Linked DNA regions of Homo sapiens: regions 2, 3, 4, 5 and 6 are each linked to region 1. Evidence: promoter capture Hi-C in 16 types of primary human blood cells and fetal thymus (Javierre and others, 2016). All regions are on one chromosome and are shown on one strand. The core of a region is centred on a gene start or on the middle of the fragment in contact, and the rest is flanking DNA. Distances in the headings are between cores, read along the strand shown.

Region 1 (3,335 bases), core at 144-2,643:
AAAGCCCAGACTTCACCACTGTGCAATATATCCACACAACAAAACTGAACTTGTACTAACTAAATCTGTATAGAATTTTAAAAAGTAAGTTAAAAAAAATTCTGGTACTCACAGGGGACAATACCTATGAATGCCCTTTTCATAGGCACACAGTGACTAAAATATTTGGGGCATGAATTCTCTAGGGGTGACAATAATAAGTGTCATTTTTCATGCTTCTGTTGCACACATAATTATATTTATCTCTAAGGAAAATCAGAGAGTGGGGTGTGGCCTCCCTCAGTGCCACCTGGGCCAGTTGTCTCCCCACATCACCAAATCTGTTATTTCACAGGCTCTAGGACACCCATAGAGGGGGAGTGAGGGACCTGGTATGGTCCCGTGAAGAGCTCTTGTAACACTACTGATTGATGTGACAGACACAGTATGTGTGCAACTTTCCTTTTTCCTTCAAAAGCACTGGTCTAAAGCAGGGATCCCCAACCCCTGGGCAGCAGACAGGTACAGGTTTGTGGCCTATTAGGAACAGGCCACACAGCAGGTGAGCAGGGCTAGAGGATTATGCCTGAGCTCCAGCTCCTGTCAGATGAGCAAAGGCATTAGATTCTCATAGGAGCACAGACCTGATTATGAACTGCGCATGTGAGGGATCTAAATTGCGCCTTCTCAAGAGAATCTAATGCCTGATGATCTGAGATAGAAGAGTGTCATCCCATCTTGCCCCCCACCCCAAACTGTCTTCCATGAAACTGATCCCTGGTGCCAAAAAGGTTGGGGACTGCTGGAAGTGCTTGTCCCCTGGGTTAAAGCCAAGAGGAGTAAACAGGATTAAGGGGCGTGGATGTGGGTGGGTGGGGGAAGAGAGCTTTCTCAGGATCGGCAACCAATCCCAGAATCTCCAGTCGCAGGAGCATGTATGTGAAGGTTTATTTGCAGGGATCCACCGTTTGTAAAATAGTACACGCTTAATAAAATTAATTTTGAGGTCAATCTTAACTGACAGATCTCTTCTTTCTTACTGGCGAGTATTTGTAAAATAAGAAAAACAGGAGGAAAAGAGAACAAACAAGAGAGATGTGGGATGACGGAGTAAGGAAAGGAGTCACGGAGAGGAGAGACAATGTCTGTGGCTGTTCCCTCAGCGTCTGGGAGAAGAGCCCAAGAATCCCATTGAACTGAGGGGGAGGAAAGGCCCTCCTGCGGCCTACCGCAAGGAAACGATCGCGGCAGACCCGGGACTAGCGCCAAAGGGCTTGGAAGGGCGGCGTTAAGAAAAATGGGCCGTACCTACAACTTCTTTCGCAGCCCTCGCTGGCCCGGGAGCGGCCCAGGAGCCCAGTGACCGTTGCGTAAGCCACGCGCCACCCAGGTGGGCAGGGTGGTGACGCGAAAGCCCGGATAGACTTCCGCGCAGGGGCGGGGCGGGGCGAGGAGGCGGCAGCGCGTTTAAGTGACGTCTTGGCTGTCCGCGCCGGCAGAGGCGAGGGTTCTGGGGTTTCTGGGACTGTCTGGTGTGTTTTCTGTCTATTGAACCCTTTCCTTTCGACGTCTCTTCTGAATATTGACTCATCGGGTTGTAGAAATCCAGGGACAGAGTTGACATCACTGGGCATTTTAGCCAAAAAGCAGTGCTCGGGACTGCATGTGCCAGAAGTAAACTTGTCAAAACTCAGATTGTGTTTCCCCTAAAGTCAGCTTAAAGTGCAATGGTAGAAGAGCACGGTCTCTCCCCAAGACGGCCTGAGCTTAAACTGCAGCGCTGTCACTTGCTAGCTATGGGACCTAGGCAAATACATCGTCTCCCTGAGGTTGTCTTCTCATCTGTAAAGGACGCTGTGGTGGTGGTGTGAGAATAAATGAGACATGGCAAGTGTCTGGAACAAAGACGCTGTGTACAAAGTAAACACTTAATATACTGTTATCAGTATAAAACCTTTGTGAGTTTTTTTTTTTTTTCCGCATGAAATCTTATGTGGAAAGTTGTATGTGAAAGAAATGAAAGCGGAGCTGCGTTGATGGTGGGCCCAGAAGCTTTGGCCTTTCAGTCCCAAAGTTTCCAGTAATAGAATCCGCGCTTCCTATAAAAGACAAAAACAACTGTTATTGGAGAAAGTGTAAACTTCTTAGAAAGACAAACTGCCCTTTCCTATCTAATGTTTCTCCTGACACTCAATGTTTACTCTTGAACACTGTATTCCTTTTTGCCTCAGTGCGTTCTGTAAAGTTAATTCCTCTACCGGAGTGTTCTTTTTCTTAGTCATCATCTAAGATCTGATCCAAATTACCGTTCCTTCTTGGGTAACTTAAATACGAAATTATCTTTTTATTGGTTTTGTTGACGTTGTTGAGACAGGGTCTCACTCTATTACCCCGGCTGGAGTGCAGTGCGATCTAGGCTCCCTGCAGCCTCCTCCTCCTTGGTTCAAGCGATCCTCCTGCCTCCTGAGTAGCTGGGACTACAGGTGGGCACCACTACCCCCGGCTAATTTTTGTATTTTTAGTAGAGAGGAGTTTCACATATTGCCCAGGAGGACTTGAACTCCTGGACTTAAGTGATCTGCCCGTCTTGGCTTCCCACAGTACTGGGATTACAAGCGTGAGCCACCACAGCCCTGCCCTTTTTATTGTTTTTAACACCTTCCCTCCTTCAACGTGTTATAGACATCTCAGCAAGGATTTATTTTTCTTCCTCGTTTCAGGAGAGTAGACAGGGTTTCATGATTATAGGGTTAAGGAAATGTTTTGTACTCATGAAAAGGAAATGTTTTGTACTCACAGGAAAAGCAGGTAGATCCCTAAAGATAATGGGAGTTGGGACAAATGGTAAACCTGGGAAGGAAGACCTTTGCTAGGAGTCTGTTTGCCTCCAAGGCACTACTCTTATGCTCTAGAAGGAATGGGCTCCTGGAGAGGTAAGTGCTTTAGGGTCCATGTAAGGAAGATGGAGCGCACATCAACAAATGGAGTTTTGGAATTCTCACCAGGCCAGAGGGCTCAGGCTGGATTTGAGTCAGTCAACTATAAATATAATATTACGTACTCCCCAAATGCCATGAAGCAATTCCCACTTGTTACAGAGAGGTACATAAATGATTCATATAAAAATATAATGTTCTGAGACATTAAAAAAATACAGTGGTTCTTTGGGAGACAATATAATGAAAATTTACTAATAAAAAACATTTAAACAATCATCTGATAACCTTTCTTATAAAAATTAAGTTTTAAAAATAAGTAAATTGATTATATTTGCAACAAAGTCATGGAAAGCAAAAGCTTTTGAGGAATAAGGAGAATCTTAACTGAGAGCAATTTTTTAAAACTATACATGACAT
Region 2 (3,356 bases), core at 255-2,754, 530 kb before region 1:
GATGGTCTCATGGGTATATATATATATCAAAAACAACTCTCTCTCTCTCTCTCTCTCCAATCCCCCAACCCCATCTCTTACAACAAGAAAGTATGTCCCTAGTATATCTGGAAGCCATCTTTTGACCAAGAGAAAAGCCAGCATGAGGAAACTGTTAACACAGGGACAGAAGAAAAGAAAATGTCTCTGAAGGGAAGAGAGCCAGAATTGTGATTACATTAAACCTAAAGATTTTCAACGATGTGACCTGATGAAATTCCATAATGGTTAAGTCATTTTGAGTCATAATTTTACATCTTTTCACCTTAGGTGAAAAGCATCCTAACCAAGATAAGTATATGCTCAGCATTATATTGATAATTTATAATACGCCATTGGAAAAAAACTCTCTTCCTGGCATTTAATTATATTACTTATTTCAAAGAAAATGCAGTAAAAAACTGATCTGTATATCTACTGATATGTCTATCAGTAAAACAGATAAGTATATCTATGTATACCTACTATGCATAAGCCTTACAGGTGCTACATAGAGGTGATATCTGTTGTTTATACTCTTTGTCTTCCCTTCTTCCTTTTTTTGATAACAGTGCCCCAATTTACGCTTAGCTAACCATAATCTAGCATTACTAATTCATGTCTTCCAGATGAGATAGACCCTCCTTGTCACTAAAAGTAGACATGTGACTCACAGCATTGTAAGAAGATAGTAATGGAACACAGGTCCCCAAATTTACCCTCCCAATCTCTTCTCAATTACTTTCCCCAACAAGAAAAAATGCTACTGCAGGTAAGCAGGGGCATCTAAAGCAGGGTCACTTGAGGTCACAGGCTCCAGGGTCTCTAAAAGGAAAGAGATACTCTCACTCTTCTCTGTTTTAGGTAGTCTGGAGGGCCTTGTTATAGAAAGACTTAAAACAAAGGTCTCAATTTTATGGCTTCCAGTGAAAGTTAGCCTGAGGAAACCTATGAATGCCTTCAGGAAAGCATTACATGGGCTTATTTGTGTGTGTTCTTGGGAAGGTCAGACTAATCTGGGTAGTGACAGGTCATATGGAGGAACGCTGCACTCATGGAAGAGTTGCTTGTAGCCCCTGAGGTTAGGCAAGCATTCTCCCTTGCACCCAGGGAGCTCTGGGAGAAGAAAGACTTTTTTTAAAGCTTCAGCTGGGTGTGGACAGATTGCCAGTTGGTTTACTGCCAGCCCACAAAAGCAGAAACCTTTCCCCTGGCAGGTTTGCCACTGCATAAAAGACCCTAACTACTTGTCCTGTAATTATAGGTCAGTGTATACAGAGCCTGAGGTCTGAACAGGAAATGGAAAATAATAACTTGCCCTAGTAGTACTAGCAAGCCAGAGAGGAAAACTAAGATAAACACTTCAAACAGGTGTTTTGTTGAAATAGAACTGTTAGAAGAGCCAGGTGAAAACTTTTCTAAAAAGTAATAAATTCACTCAAGAAGATATAATTAAAGATTAGGAGTTAAATATATGATAGATGCTAGAATGATAAAATATACATATTTTAAAAATAGGTAATGACTCCATGTGTTTCTGACAGTATACCCTTCCTGGTTGAAATAACTAAAATGAAATAACTAATGGAAATAACTGAAATGCTACATAACATATTTTTAAAAATTAATACTGCTTAGCCGGCATGAAATTCAGGAATCTAAATATTTCCAAAACTGAAAAACTGGAGGGAATAGCTGAGAAATTGACTTAGTCTGTTTTGTGTTGCTATCACAGAAAACCACAGACTGGGTAATTTATAATGAAAAGAAATTTGTATCTCACAGTTCTGGAGGCTGGGAAGTCCAATATCAAGGTGCCAGCATCTTGTGAAAGCTTTCTTGCTACATCATCCCATAGTGAAAGGCAGAAGAGCAAAAGAGCAGACACTCAAGAGAGAAAGTAACCTACTCCTACAATAATGGCATTCATCCATTTATGGGGGTAGAGACCTCATGACCCAATCAGCTCTCAAAGGTCTCACCTCTCAACACTGTTGAATGGGGAGTTAAGTCCCAACACAGGAACTTTGGGGGACATGTTCAAACGATAACACTGCCTATCTAGTCCTTGTCACTGGACAGAAAAAGAAGAAATTCTCACCTGTGAATTCATAACCACTTACACTATATGTGATGATCAAAAGCACACAAGTAAAAAATTTTATTTAAGGTTTTTCCAAGTTAATAGTATACCAGATAACAGGCAAAAAGAAGCACAAATATTCCTTACTCAATTTTAACCTAAGCTTCAAATAATTTCCAGAGATTGTTTCAAGAAACGTAAGCAATTTATTATTTATAATTCAGTTGACATATTAAACAGCATATGAAATATAGCTGAAAAGAGAATTGATAAACTAGAAGGCAAATATAAAGAAATTATCCAGAATGAAATCCAAAGAGATAAGAGATATTAAAAGACACAGAGATTAGATTGAGAAGATCTAACATATACCTAATTTAAATTCCAGAAAACAAGTCTAGGGAAAATGAAAGAGAGGAAATGTTACAAAAGATAATGGACTAGGAATGTAACTGTTGAAACATCAAATCTTGAGACCCAGGGAGCCATATAACATGCTTCCAAAATCCAAGCTTATTATATTAATATACAAAAACATTAATATTAATATTATATATTAATGTTATTGTTAATATAATCATTATATTATTAAACATATAATTTATACATAAACAATATATTATATATAAATGTATATGATATATAATATACAATAGTTATAATATATAATAAATTATATATTGACTTCTATATAATATAGAATTATATAACTTATAAATTATATATAGCTTTATATATAAATCAATAATTATATATTGATGTGTACAATTATTATTTTATATTATTATTAATAATTATATAATTGGTATTATATAAATATTAATTTTATATTGCAATAGTTATAAAGTAAATATCATATAACATTATTAATATAATAAATATAGTATATTAATATTAATAACTTGTATTTATTAACAATATATTAATAAATGACATAATTTCACATTTCTTTCAGATTTCTGTAAAAGCTTATCAGGAGTTATATATATGCAAAACCATATTTATCTTATTAAAGAGGCATGTATAAGTGTCAGACCATCACTTATGAATAGATTTGACAGCCAGATATACAACCTTTCAGAAAACAGAAGCAAACCTCCTCCATAAAAACAAGTAATTGGCAGCTGTCTCAATGATGTCCAGTAACTAGCCTTATTTCACTCAGAACAGTTTTGTCGGCTTCATATAGCATGACCAATCACCCTGGTTTACTAGAGCCTGAGGGTTTCCTGCGCAAGGGACTCTCTGTGCTAAA
Region 3 (3,603 bases), core at 777-3,276, 550 kb before region 1:
ATTTGTCCAAACCCATAGAATGTACAACATTAAGAGTGAACCTTAATGTAAACTACGGACTTTGGGTGACGATGTGTCAGTGTAGGTTGATCAGTTGTAACAAATGCACCACTCTAGCCGGGATGTCAGTAACAGAGGAGCCTATTATGCATGTGTAGGAGCAGGGGGTATATGAGAAATCTCTTTACCTTCCTCTCAATTTTGCTGTGAACCTAAATCTGCTGTGAAAAAAAAATTGTCTGTTTAAAAATTAATTTTATTTCCATATATTAGCAATGAACACTGAAATTAAAAATATGATATTTACAATCACTCAAAAAAAAAGAAACAGGTGTAAATCTAACAAAACATGTATAGGATTTACATGCTGAAAACTATAAAATGCTAAAGAAAAAACTCCAGAAGATCTAAATAAATGAGCAGCCAATGAGGATTGGAAGACTCAACATAGTAAATATGTCAGTTCTCCCCAAATTGATATACAGGTTTAATATATTTCCTATCAAAATCCCAGCAAGACTTTTAATAGGTACAGAAAAAATTCTAAAATATAACAAAAATATAGAGGAACTAGATAAAAAAGGACAAATTATTCCAAAAATTATATATGGAAAGGCAAAATAATTAAAATAGCTAAAAAAAACTTTGAAAAAGAATTTTAAAAACGGGAAGAAACAGTCTACCTAATTCCGACATTTTATAGCTATAGTAATCAAGATTGTGAGTTATTGTAAGTAAGACAGATATATAGATAAAGGGAACAAAATAGAGAAACCAGAAATAAATTCATAAATTCACAGAAATATGCCCACTTGACTTTAGACAAACGTGCACAAGCAATTCAATAGAGAAAAGATAGTCTTTTTTTATTTTTGGACACAAAGTCTCACTCTTTCAGCCAGGCTGGAGTACAATGGCAGGATCATGGCTTACTGCAGCCTTAACCCCCCAGGCCCAAGCAATTCTCCCACCTCAGCCTCCTTAGTAGCTAGGAATACAGGCACACACCAACATGCCTGGCTATTTTTTAATTTGTTGAGAGACAGGGTCTCACTATGTTGCCCAGGCTGGTCTCAAACTCCTGGGTTCAAGCTATCCTCCCACCTTGGTATCCGAAAGTGTTGAGATTACAGGCATCAGCCACTGTGCCTGTCCTTAAGATAGCCTTTTCAATAAATTGTTCCAGAACAATTAGATATCCATAGGCCAAAAAAAAAAAAAAAAATGAACCTTGACCAAAGTTAAAAATTAACTCAAAGTGGATCATGCACTTGCATGTAAAATGTAAACTATAAAACTTAAAAAAAACACACACAGGGGAAAATCTTTGGGATCTAGGGTTAGGCAAAAAGTCCCTAGACTTGACACCAAAAATATGATCTATGAATGGAAAAAAATGATACATTGGACTTCATCAAAATATAAATCTTTGGCTCTAGAAAAGACTGAGTTAAGAGGATGAAAAGTCAAGCTACAGGCTGAGAGAATATATTTACAAATCACATGGCCACCAAAGGACTAGTATCTGGAATACAAAAAGAACTCTCAAAACTCAGTGTAAACACTCAATCCAATTAGAAATGAATGAAAGTCATAAATGGAAACTTCACTGAAGAGGATAAATAGATGGTAAGTAAGCACATGAAAATATGTGCAACTTCATCAGCCCTTAAGGCTGTGTGAACTAAAATCACAATGAAATACCACTGCATACCTATGAGAACAGCTAAAATAAAAAATAGTGACAACACCAAATACTAGTGAGGGTGTGAAGAAACTGGATCACTCAGGTGTCACTGCTTGGGATGTAAAATGGTACAGCCACTCTGGAAAGCAGTTTAGTAGTTTAGCAGTTTCTTTAAAAACTAAACATGCAACTACCCTATGATCTACCAATTACACTCCTGGGTATTTATTCCATATAAATGAAACTTTATGTTCACACAAACACCTGTAAAAGAATGTTTATAGAAGATTTATTTGCAATAGCCAAAAAGTAGAAACATCAGACATGGTGGCTCACACCTGTAATCTCAACCACTGGAGAGGCTGAGGCAGGAGGATTGCCTGAGGCTGGGAGAGATTTGTCTTGGCAACATAGCAAGACCGTGTCTCTAAATAGTTTTTTTAATTAGCAGGGTGTGGTGGTGTCTGTAGGACCAGCTACTTGGGAGACTGAGGTGAGAGGATTGCTTGAGCCTAGAAGTTCAAAGCTGTAGTAAACTACAATCATGGCAACCTGTATACTTCAACCTAGGCAACAGAGAGACATCTGGTCTCTAAAAAAACAAAAAAAGTAGAAACAGCTCAGATGTTCTTCAATGTGTAAATGGGTATACAAACTGGAACAGCTGTACCATAAAATACTACCCAGCAATAACAAAGAATGAACTGTTGATACACACAACCACCTGGATGAATCTCCAGGGATTTGTACTAAGTGAAAAAGAAACAATTCTGAAAGATCATACATTGTATAATTATATTCACATATCTGATGTAACAAAATTATAGAAGTGAAGAACAGATTAGTGACTGCTAAGGGTTAAAGAGGGATGGAAGAGGAAGAGAAGTGGGTGTAGCTGTGAAAGAGCATCAGGAGAGAGCCTGTAGTGATGGAAATGTTCTGTATCTTGAATGTATCAGTGTCAACATCCTGGCTATAATATTGTACTATAGTTTTGCAAAATATTACATTGAGGGAAACTAGGTGAAAGCTACACAAGATCTCTGTGTATTCTTCCTCACAGTTGTATGTGAATCTACAGTTGCGTCAAAATGAAACATAATTTTTTTAAAAAAGGGTAAGAAGGAAATATTATGAACACTTTTATGACTACAAATTCAATAACTTAGAGGAATTGGCAAATTTTTTTAAAGACATTAACTACCAATAATCACTCAAGAAAAATAGAGAGTATGAAGAGTGGAATATCTATTAAACTGAAATTATACTTTAAAATCTTTTAACAACAACCAAAAAATCCAGGTAAAGAGAGCTTCACTAGAGAAGTTTACTAAGCATTTGTAGAAAGAAAAAATAATGCAATATCTATACACAAACACACAGACATAAAAAAATGGAAGAGAGAAAAAATGGCAGATAGGAGTCAGAACTAACTTGCAGCTCTTACCCAGATGGACAGAACAGCATGTGGAGACTCATATTGTGAACTTTTACTCCAAGAGCTACTGCAGGAAGATACCAGGAATACTAAAAGAATTCACAGATCCTTTGAAAGAAGAGGCTTGCTGCTACAAACTCTGTGAGACAGCCAAAAAACTGTGAGTATCCAAAGTGTGAGAGAAGGAAAGTCCGCTTCCAAATACACATCCTCACTGGGAAACCTGAAAATCCAGATCATGGGAGTAGGATTTAACCTTACCTAGAGCTGAAACTAGAGAGCCAAGAGAAATAGAAACGTAAACAAAGCAGCAGGGAGAGCCCTGTAGGAACTCCCTGCTTCCAGGGAAGCCCAGGGAAGCCATTTCTGACTTTATCTCACAGGGGTCTTTTGGGAGGGCTCCCAGTGGAATTGGGGAAAGACCACAAGGAGAAGGAAACTTCCAGCTGACCTTCATAATAATTTCAGCCAAGCGTAA
Region 4 (3,707 bases), core at 1,041-3,540, 610 kb before region 1:
TAGGTGTTTCCTTTTTCCTTTTTTTCTTTTTGTTTTACCAATTCCACTATTGAGAAACTTATTAGATGTTTACTGAAAAGGGCTGGACCATTTTCGGAACTTGTGCAACCTTCAAAATTCTTAGTTTATTCAATATGTAGAGCTTCCACTATTGCTTAACTGCCACACCCTTTTCAAATTCCTTAGAAACTTGTAAATCTGAAACCAATCAGAGATGGTTAATTCATTTCATACAGTCCCAAATGCCAAAATACATTTTTTTCATGGAAAATTCAAGCTATTCCCAGATGTCAACCATAAACATGCATTTTCCTCCCCTTTTCTTCACTGTTTGGGTCATAAAACTAGTGCCACATTCACAGTAAGGAAGCAATGGCTCTAATTTTAATCTTTCATCTTGTTTTAGGCTAAACTGGAGGTCAGCTTTAAAGGGTATATTTGTTCTAGTCAGCCAACTTTATTGAGCCCTAACTATGCAGTAGGCATTGGGGAAAGTGGATGAATAAACCCAGTTTCTACTCTCAAGGATTTCAGTCTATTAATGGAAACACATTCATAGACAAATAATTATTAACAGTGAGAATCATTTCTACAGATACAAAGGAAAAGATTAAGCCTATGTAGCTTTTTGTGGCAGAGGTAGATATCAGGAAAGGAACTAGAGAAAGTTGGAAGTGTGAACACCATATGCCCAATAACTATTGAATGGATGAGCAAATTGTGGTACATCCACACAGTAGCATACCTGACAACAGTAAGAATGAACTACTGATACAGGCAACATCATGGATGAATCTCAAAAACATTATGCTCGCTGGACACAGTGGCTCATGCCTGTAATCCCAGCACATTGGGAGGCTGAGGAGGGAGGATTGCTTAAGTCCAGGAGTTAGACACCAGACAGGGCACTATAGTGAGAACATTTCTCTACAAAAAATTAGCCAAGTTAGTGGTGCATGCCTGTAGTCCCAGCTATTCAGGAGGCTGAGGTGAAAGGATCACTTGAGCCTGGGAGGCAGAGGTTGCCATGAGCCAAGATCAGGCCACTGCACTCCAGCCTGGGCAACAGATTGAGACTCTGTCTCAAAAACAAAATACAGAAACATTATGCTAAGTGCAGTATGCTGGATGTAGAAGACTACATAATGAATAATTCAATTTATATGAAATTATTTTAAAGACACAACTATAGTGACAGAAAACAAATCAGCAGATGTTGGGGCCGGGGGCAGGAGGAGGGGATAGACTGCAAGGTGACATAGGAACATTTTTGCAGAGTAATGTTCTAGATTACAATTGTAGTGCTTATATGACTATATAAGTCTGTCAAAAGCCATTGAATTGTACATACTCTTAAAAATTGGTAAAATTTATCATATATATTGCATTGTATTATGCCTTAATAAAGCTGACTTTTAAAAATGAATGAGTCCAATTTTGCTATATATACACAGGGCATAGGAAAGGCAGGAAGAGGTTTCTGGAGGAGACTGCAGATAGAGACAACCAAAGACAGGGAAACATAAAACAACATCAGGGAGAAGAAGGGGTTATAAGTGGTTCATTATTTCTGGAGCCGAAGTGAAAGAGTGAGGAGGACTGAGACCAGAATTAGATTATGGAAGACTTTATGGCCATTCTCATCTTCCTGTAAAAAGTGTAGCTTTGGCCTTCAACAGGAAACAGCAAAAAGAGAAAAACACACTCTCCTAATCGATGACAATATGAGATGCTCTTGAGGTAGCTTAAGTCAGATATTTACCTGGAATAAATAAATATAATTATTTACATTGTAAAATCTAAAGTGCTAGCAAGATTATTTCTCAGCAATGATGTTGGCTCCCAAGAGCACTCCAGAAAATATTCTATTTTGAATTAGAGGCAAATTCACTCTACCAAAATTTAGCAATGTCCTGACTATACACTAGCCCCACAAAGTGGTCATTTGCCCCCTAGCCAAGCCAAATTAAAAGTTTGTGACACTTTTACAACTAAATAATTTGAAAAAGTGAATTATCCATGATTAGTAGAAAAAAATGAAAATAGTGTTTTACCTAAGCATGAGAGAATAGGACAAAATAAGAAAAGTAGATTAGGACATAAAAAGAAGCTAAAATGAATAATTTTGTAAGAAAATAACCTGCCTCAACCACAGCTTTTGTCAAAGGGCTTCCCTCAGTTAATCGATATCTGAGTCTACCTATCTTGAGAGAAAGTGGCTCTTTTGCCCTCTATTACAAGAGCTGACCCAAAGAGACTCAGGGTCAGGGCTTGTCCTATACTCTGGGCCAGGTCACAATAACCAACCCTCACCCCAATACACACACACACACACACACACACACACTTTTTTGGTGTACATACCTTGCCCATGTGCTTCACCAGACATGCCTCCTGCTTCCTCCTCTAGCTCCAGAAAGCCTGTGTGTAAGCTCTGGCATCTGTCTCCTCACAGGAAAGAAAACCACTTGAAAGACATTATAGGAGCCTCATTTTACTTTCTGGGAAATTAATATAAAAGATCCATAGGTTTTAGAGATAGACTCCAATTTGGAGATGGATGCAGTAATAAAAACAACAAAAGATCACACAAATGTCACTTGTCTTCACAGTTAATACTTCCTCCTCTCCCTCTCCTCCCTTCCACTCTCTCTGTCTCTCTCTCCCTCCCTGCCCCCTCCTCTTTTGCTTGCATAGCTCCTTCACTTTATACCCATGCAGATAGAGTTGCCCAAATCAGCAAAGCAACTGTATCTGAAGTATCATGGGATAGATCTACCTCCATGTCAATATGCAGATTGTCTTGTCTTACCCTTCACACTGGAAGAATGATGATGATATTAATATTAGTAATTATAACAATAATATTTCCACTCATTAAACAACTACAACTCACCAGGCAGTCAACATTGCTAGTCCTTATAATCACCTGCAGAGCAGATGCTGCAATTATCTTTTTACAGATGAAGCACTGAGACTCATAGAGATAAAATAAGGTGCCCAAGGTCCAGTAAGGTGATAGTTGCAGAATGAAGATTGAAACGTTGATCAGTCTAACTCCAAATCTTATACTTTTTCCATAAAACACTGATGAAAAGTAAGGTGAGAAGGAAGGAAAGAACAAGAAGTCTGTTCTGTGTCCAGACATATTCAGGACCACATAGCTCCAAAGTTAGAGAAGCAAGTGCTGATGAACAAGACTTCAGAAAAATATCTATGTTCTATTCATATTCCACCAGTATTAAACCTGGCCACTGGAGAAGACAGTGTGGCGATTCCTCAAGGATCTAGAACTAGAAATACCATATGACCCAGCCATCCCATTACTGGATATATACCCAAAGGATTATAAATCATGCTGCTATAAAGACACATGCACGCATATGTTTATTGTGGCACTATTCACAATAGCAAAGACTTGGAACCGACCCAAATGTCCATCAATGATAGACTGGATTAAGAAAATGTGACACATACACACTATGCAGCCATAAAAAAGGATGAGTTCACGTCCTTTGTAGGGACATGGGTGAAGCTGGAAACCATCATTTTTAGCAAACTATCACAAGGACAAAAAAACAAACACCGCACGTTCTCACTCACAGGTGGGAATTGAACCATGAGAACACTTGGACACAGGAAGGGGAACATCACACACTGGGGCCTGTCATGGGGTGGGGGGAGGGGGAGGGATAGCATTAGGAGAT
Region 5 (3,433 bases), core at 61-2,560, 630 kb before region 1:
TCCAGTACTGTGGTCCACTGCCTCTTCTACAGATGCTCTTCTCTGCCCCAGGCCCACAGTATCTCAAGGTTACTGTGGCTTAGATAGCATTTACCTTTATATCTGAAAGAGAGTAGAGAATGAGGGGACATTTGTGTTGAGGTCCAGGAATCAGACCCATCTGGGTGTTATGGGTTATTTTATGATTACTGGAAACAAAAAAGATTTCCTTGGCACACAATATTCAGGGGGAATTCCTGATTCCTCCATCCAGCTAAATTCTCTTTCCATCGAACTAAAGCAAGTGGGGACTCCTGGAATAATGCAAGGCTTTGATGGCAAAGTCCCTGAACACGGGGAGGGGAGTCACACACATCCCTCTCTTCCTCTCAATTTCAGGACAAGGAAGGATAAGTCCACATTCTTCCTATCAAACTCTCACTAGAGATTAGAAATAGAGACTTTGAACTGTGCCTTGGGCATCTCCTCAGGCACTGGAGCAGATGTAGCTCTGAGAAGAAAACAGCATGGCCGCATCCTTTTATCCAGCTCCTGCTCTATAAATTGGCAAAGGGAACTCATCTTTTATTCTAGTTCTATATAATTTACTCCAAATTAAGGAGGAATTCTTAATTATAAATGTTAAGCAGAAGTTGCAAATATGTAAGTTTAATGCCTCTGTTTAAGAGAGGCATTAATAAGAGAAGATTGATCTTTCTTCTAAGGGTACTGGTCTTTCAAGAGAAAAGTAATCTTACACAATTGATAGAAGAGGTTAGTGCTATGATAAAATTTAATACATCCATTGTGCACCATTGAAATTATTTGACTTCACTCACTGACTGCTGTTTCTGCTAAATTGATATCTTAGATCTAAGAGTGATTTGCCATATTCTAGATAGGACTAAGCGGCCTGGTGCAAAATAACCCTGAAGTGTTCACGACTGACCCCTCAGCCCAGACAAAATCATGGAGATGCAGACCACACACCAAATTGAAGCTGAAAACGTGAGATACCTGGGATTATCACAGCCATCCAGAGAGCATCCTTCTCCATACACATAAATTAAGGCATGTGCCCTATGCCCTTTCTCCAATATGATTTTCCTCTAATCCTTGGAACCACTAGAAGAACACTAACTGCCTGACTCTCCTATTCTCCTGACAATACCACAGATGAATTAGGAACCCATTTTCCTAATTCTCTGTGTGTTGGTTTGTTTGGACAGTTACTCTAGTGAAATCGAGTCTTCACAACAAAAGATAGAGGACCCAGACTAAGCAACTTGCCTAAACCTGAGGACTAGAGTCACTTTTATCATGGCTCATTGACATGATACATTGACATATAACGCTCTCCTGAGACAGTTACACTCCCACCTTCTCCCTCTATTCCTATTCCTGGTTATTCCAAACCTCTCCTTCTCCTGTTCTTCACCTTCCAGATGTACTGGTTAGCATCTTCTCCTCATGGCTGAGAAACAATGGCTTACTATCCTGTTTGCCAATCCTTGTTCCACCTTCCTTCAAGTCTTTCTTCCTCATTCAGAGAATGAATATTATTGCTTCTCAGTTTTTTGGCTAAGATTAAGTGAGAATGAATGAGTGAATATTAATTTTATCTTGTGATTAAGTGAGAATGAATGAGTGAATATTAATTTTGTCTTGTACTTATTGTAGTAACTTCTATATAAAATTTTAAAGAGGACAACATTTCTGTCTCAACACCGTCTTGCCTTTCGCAACCTTTCAGACAAACATCTCAGGCTTCCATATTTTCCCTATTGTCTGCTCTAACGTAACATGATTTCCAGGAAAGATAATAAATTGCTCACTGTAAGGTAAAAGGTTGCAAAGTTTATGCCTTTCCAAAGAGATTTGCTTTAACACAGGACCAAAATTTCAATTTCCAATTCTGGAAATGCAAAATCAGTAAGAAATCTTGGAGAAGGACAATTTTCTGGTATCCTTTAAATTATACCCCTACAAACATTGTGTTCAAATAACAACTCACTCATGGTTCATAAAATCATTTTCATGGATTAATATCAGTTTATTTTTTAATAGAATGGAAGGAAACAAATATCAATGTACATCAATTAGAGTAAGCGTAAACTTTTTTTTAGAATTTTCATTTCCGTTTTTTATAAATGTACAACATATATATGTATATGTAATTATAAGCAAAATATATAAATGCATTTCTTGTTATGATCATCATCAAAAAGTTTGAAAGTTACCTGCCCCTCACCCCTAGATCATGTTACCAAATGCTTTTGATTCCTCTTGTGCAACTTCACTAACATGCATCCCTGCTTTTCCATCCCCATCACTGTCCACATAGGTCAGATTATTCATTTCCGTTCTGAAGTTCTACAATAATCACAAAGCCTACATAACTGCTGTCTCTTACATTTTTCTGGGTGTTTACAGTCTCTAAGTCAAATTATTTCCTAATTCAAACTCTGAAATCTGTGCAAGACAAAAATCTGAATTCCTGTGCCTAGCCCTCAACCATCTGGCCCATTTTTACCTTGCCAAACCTTATCTCCTGCAGTTACCCAACTTGCCTCCAGGCATTCTTCTCTTTTCTGCACCAGATCTCTGCTCAAACCATCCTCCTCCCACTCTTTAGCTTGAAATGGCTCCCTTGCCTCATCTTCACGGCATCTTATCAGTCCCTGAATCCTTCAAGTCTCAGCCCCCTTCCCATGTCCTTCATCCCCCAGTGAATGCATTCACTGACCACCCCATACTTCTGAGAAAGCCTTAAATCTTATTATTTTTAACCTTTTCACTGGTGCACATTATTGGTGTACTCATATTTTCTGTTACTTTCTACATTCTTATCTTACCTTTCCAAGGAGATTTTAAGTTCCTTAAAAGAAAATATATCTTAAGTTTTTCTAGCTTGTTGCACTTAGAGCAAAGGTCCTCCATAAAAATGTTTTGATTGATTTTTCCTACTGTACACATGATGCTAAGGTCACTGTGACCCAATAGTTGAAAAATTGGCCATTAATTTTAAAAATACATACTATTGTGCTTATTTTTTATTTTCCATCTTATTTCGTTTTCTAAACTAATAGTTATTATCCTTAAATCACTTCTGAGCAATTAATTTTAACTTTTTAACCAACTGTACTACTACTACTAATAATAATAATACTCATTTTTCTTTCTTCAACCCTCTCTGCAGGAAGTTTTAATGTGAAAAATAATTTAAGTCATTAAAACAATAAATACTCTGAATTGAGGTGTAATGGGTGACCTTTATGATAGTTTCTTCTCACTAGAGAGATTGACTCACAAGTTACATAAATACTTAGAAAAGATATCTATGGGGGAATTCAAACATCAGATAATGATTGAACTTTTTGAATTTACCATTTCAACCTTGAAATCCTGTAATTCTAAATTCCACTTGCTGAGTAAGTAGATTCTGAACAACCAA
Region 6 (3,509 bases), core at 652-3,151, 680 kb before region 1:
TCAGAAGAAGTAATGTCTAAACTGATACCAGAGCATAATCAGGTATTTCTAGAGAACCAGGCAGTGTAAATGGTCCATTAAGATTGGAACTGTGACAAAGGATACGGTTTAAGAAACATACAGGGACCAAATCAGAAAAGGACTTTGAAGCCACTCTAAGTGTTTGTAGTTTATCTAAAAGTCACTGAATTGTTTAACAGGATGAATGATATGATCAGATTTGTATTTTTAAATAACCATTCAAATTAGAGTGCAGCAGTCATTTAAAATGTCTGCTGAACACAGGAATAGAAGTGACATCAGCATGGTAAAAAATATTTCAGGAATTCAGAAAATAGAGAAATCAGTAAATCAGTGCTGGCTGTGATACCCCAGAAAGGTTTTATGGTGAAGTTTAACTGGGCTTAAGAGAGTAGATTTTCACAGGGCAATTCAAGGAAAAGAAGAACATTTCAGTCAAAGGCAGGAAAGGTCCAAGGAAGATAATGAGTTAAGAAGTGGTTGAGCAAAAGCTTATGGGAATCCATAGAGCAGTGAGTAGTTTAGTTTAGTGGGTGCTAGGTCTGGAGAGGTAGGTTGACACAGGAGGATCAGGCCTTAAATGCTAGGCTCAAGATTTAGAGTTTGCCAGCTGAGACAGTTCATGGAGGCTTTTTGAAAGAGTGTTGCTTTGAGAAGACTGAATATGAACTGAAAAAGGTTAAAAACAGAACTTGGTTACCAGTAGAAATGTGAGAAGAAAAAAACTATGTGCACTACAGGAGATGGGCTGCAAGATATATATCAAAAAATATATATCAGAAGAAGAAATTCTGAATGGAGGCATTTCCAGCAGCTCAGTGTGATAATTTAGAAAATAGGATCTTCCTTTTATCAGGCTGTTTAACCACTATCTACACATAAGAACTTGAAAATACAGTGTTTGAAAGAGGAAATGAGGAAAAGGAACATTTGAAGAATGAGAAAGGAACAGCTGAACAAACAAAAGGCAGCACTGAGGCCATTCTTAAATGTCCTAGATTAATAACCCAGGGGTATCCAGATATTTGGGGCTTCCCTGTGTATTCTAGGAACTCCCCTCAATAGATCAGACCTTTATCCAGAAATGAGGGCCCCAGAGACCTATTTGGCTAAAAGGGCTCCCTCTTCTTTGTTGTTTTGGTCACTGCTTCTACCTAACTCTTCGCACTGTCAGTAGCTATAAGAAGCAAAACTATTGGCTCAATTGTTCTACTGTCTACAGTTTGAACTCTGACCTCTTTGATATCCCAAAGCAACAAGCTAATTTAGTAGTCCTTACTTAAGGATACGAAGAAAAATATTTAGAAAACCTTCCAAAATTGTCTAACAAATCTCCAGAGTTCATTAGTCTATTACCTGAGAAAAGCTGACCTAATAAATATCACAGCCCTCAACCAAAAGAACAATGTTATTTGAAAACTAAATCTTGTAGAAGATTCAATAAATTCCTGGACCTTGAAACAAATTTTATCTTCTTAGCCTTTTTCAAAGCCAAAAACCAGTGTCTCACAATAGACATGTGCATTGTTTATTCCACCCTGTGAGGAAACTGAAGTTGTATTCCTCAGGGTATGTAAGCATTAATGACCCTAAAATTTTACTCCAGAATTGGGTGGTTTCACACTGGAGCATACATGAATGTTGTGGGCTCAAGTCCATCACTTACCAGCAAATCAATGGATTCTTTTAGATTGGTATTTCATTTGTCATCATTTAACCAATGATTATTGTCATCATTAGGACTTTTTAGAACATCAGGCAAGGTACCGTGGCTCATGCCTGTAATCCCAGCACTTTGGGAGACCGAGGCCGGCGGATCACCTGAGGTCGGGAGTTTGAGACCAGACTGACCAACAGGGAGAAACCTCATCTCTACTAAAAATACAAATTAGCCCGGTGTGGTGGCACACGCCTGTAATCCCAGCTACCTGGAAGGCTGAGGCAGGAGAATTGCTTGAACCCAGAGGGGGAGGTTGTGGTGAACTGAGATCGTGCCATTGCACTCCAGCCTGAGCAACAAGAGTAAAACTCAGTCTCAAAAAAAAAGCAAGAACATCAAAGAGATGTTTGTTAGGCTTATTAAGTGGTAAATTTTCCTTGGCTTCCTTTTCTTTCCAAGGTAATTATGGGCTTCTTCCTGTCTCTTTTTGATGCCCACAGAGGCCATAATGAGGGCAGTTAAATATGCAAACATGAGAATGAGAAAACAGGTGTCAAGATACATATAATTTTACCTATTGAGACATCCTGCCTGCTAATAAACAGAGAATCGTATTACTGGTACACTTAACCAATTTTCCTAAATAATTTAGGCATGTTTTCCAATGTCTTTGCAAAGGTGATGTGGGGAGGTCTTTTGCCCCTTTAAAATTCATCAACACCTCCAGACACTGCAAGATAAGGAGGTCATGCAAGTCAAAACAATGTGTGGGCTACAGATATGCAGCTTCAAGTCAATCCTCTAAACTTCTTTCCAAGCACGTGACCATACCTACCTGGAAATACTGGAGTCAGCTCAGTTGTTTCCCCTATTTGATAAGAAAAGAATGCAACTAGCCAGCAAACACTTTATTTTCTTAAATATTAGCATAATTTGTGGGCATTTCCATTTTTCCAACACATCATTTCTCAGATATTACCCCAGATAAAATACCATGCCCAGAACTGGAATTATAGACAATTTACTAAAGAACATGCATAAGGGGACCACAAAACCCTTCTAGATCAAAGAGAGACCACCTCTGACATGCCATGGCATCAGAAAGTTCTACTTTTCTTAAGAGCCATATACTTTAATTGTGGTAAGATATTTCTAACAAAAAGATCAATCTACGTATAATGTTATTAACATGGAATTTATTTGATTACAGTTTCCCTAACTGTAATCTAAAGTCATATTCATTAGGAAACGCCAAATTTCCAAGAGCAGAGTATAATATGCAGCATTTCCCAAACATCTTGGACCCCAAAAACTTCTTGTAACAAACTAACATCGTCCAAAAATGACAAACGATATGGAAAATACCGTATTCTACCCTCCAATATCAGCTGTCAGTGGGACAGGAGTAAAGGAAAACAAGTCAAAGCACTGAGTTAACTGAGTTTTAAAAGACGGAGAGCAGTTTTGGAAGGATGCAGAAACTACACTTTGTCTACTTAACAATTTTAAGAACTACCCAATCACAGAGTATTTATTATAGAAATAATTAGGAATAATTTGATTTTATGTTTACAAAGAGGTATGATGTTTAACTGCTCCTACGTAGTTTGAAGCTTGTTCTTAAACCCAAGGTATTGCCAAATGCCTAGTAGTACCCTGTTTATTACTGAAAAAATTTTTTTAATCATTTTGGATAAATACTAGAATCAAATATTTGACCTGACATATGACAAGGAACTAACAATATAAGCCTAGTCTACCACCATCTGGATGACCAAATTAGAATCTTAGTCTCAAGGCCGCCCCTGTTTCAGCCCTGAATGCCTCA

What was found. Contacts are between HindIII fragments. The CHiCAGO score rates a contact against its expected background, and 5 or more counts as called.
Region 2: a fragment that was not itself captured here is called in contact with the fragment with the promoter of SLC9B1 in region 1 in 13 of 17 cell types (activated CD4 T cells, total CD8 T cells, naive B cells and 10 more); the score reaches 10.3 in activated CD4 T cells.
Region 3: a contact is called between a fragment that was not itself captured here and the fragment with the promoter of SLC9B1 in region 1, in 9 of 17 cell types (total CD4 T cells, activated CD4 T cells, naive CD4 T cells and 6 more). The highest score is 10.4, in total CD4 T cells.
Region 4: a contact is called between a fragment that was not itself captured here and the fragment with the promoter of SLC9B1 in region 1, in 14 of 17 cell types (activated CD4 T cells, total CD4 T cells, non-activated CD4 T cells and 11 more). The highest score is 13.9, in activated CD4 T cells.
Region 5: a contact is called between a fragment that was not itself captured here and the fragment with the promoter of SLC9B1 in region 1, in 7 of 17 cell types (total CD8 T cells, non-activated CD4 T cells, total CD4 T cells and 4 more). The highest score is 10.1, in total CD8 T cells.
Region 6: a fragment that was not itself captured here is called in contact with the fragment with the promoter of SLC9B1 in region 1 in 17 of 17 cell types (non-activated CD4 T cells, naive CD4 T cells, erythroblasts and 14 more); the score reaches 24.0 in non-activated CD4 T cells.

Annotation. Positions count from the first base shown.
Region 1 is chr4:103,018,312-103,021,646 of GRCh38, forward strand. SLC9B1 (solute carrier family 9 member B1) reads right to left here and starts at 1,394. Exons shown (of 12, transcript NM_139173.4): 1 at 1,288-1,394. It also overlaps a transcript of SLC9B2 not described here. RefSeq lists an enhancer at 1,235-1,735. The HindIII fragment of the contact is 6,332 bases long and covers 1-2,029 here.
Region 2 is chr4:102,492,803-102,496,158 of GRCh38, forward strand. The region is part of intron 1 of NFKB1-AS1 (NFKB1 antisense RNA 1); the gene reads right to left. Among named protein-coding and RNA genes, the nearest start is that of NFKB1, 6.9 kb to the right of the region's middle. The HindIII fragment of the contact is 691 bases long and covers 1,160-1,850 here.
Region 3 is chr4:102,471,577-102,475,179 of GRCh38, forward strand. The region is part of intron 1 of NFKB1-AS1 (NFKB1 antisense RNA 1); the gene reads right to left. Among named protein-coding and RNA genes, the nearest start is that of NFKB1, 28 kb to the right of the region's middle. The HindIII fragment of the contact is 7,143 bases long and covers 1-3,603 here.
Region 4 is chr4:102,411,453-102,415,159 of GRCh38, forward strand. No RefSeq gene overlaps it. Among named protein-coding and RNA genes, the nearest start is that of SLC39A8, 68 kb to the left of the region's middle. The HindIII fragment of the contact is 4,802 bases long and covers 1-3,707 here.
Region 5 is chr4:102,385,409-102,388,841 of GRCh38, forward strand. No RefSeq gene overlaps it. Among named protein-coding and RNA genes, the nearest start is that of SLC39A8, 42 kb to the left of the region's middle. The HindIII fragment of the contact is 4,429 bases long and covers 1-3,433 here.
Region 6 is chr4:102,340,441-102,343,949 of GRCh38, forward strand. All of the region lies in intron 2 of SLC39A8 (solute carrier family 39 member 8), which reads right to left. Among named protein-coding and RNA genes, the nearest start is that of SLC39A8, 3.3 kb to the right of the region's middle. The HindIII fragment of the contact is 2,782 bases long and covers 511-3,292 here.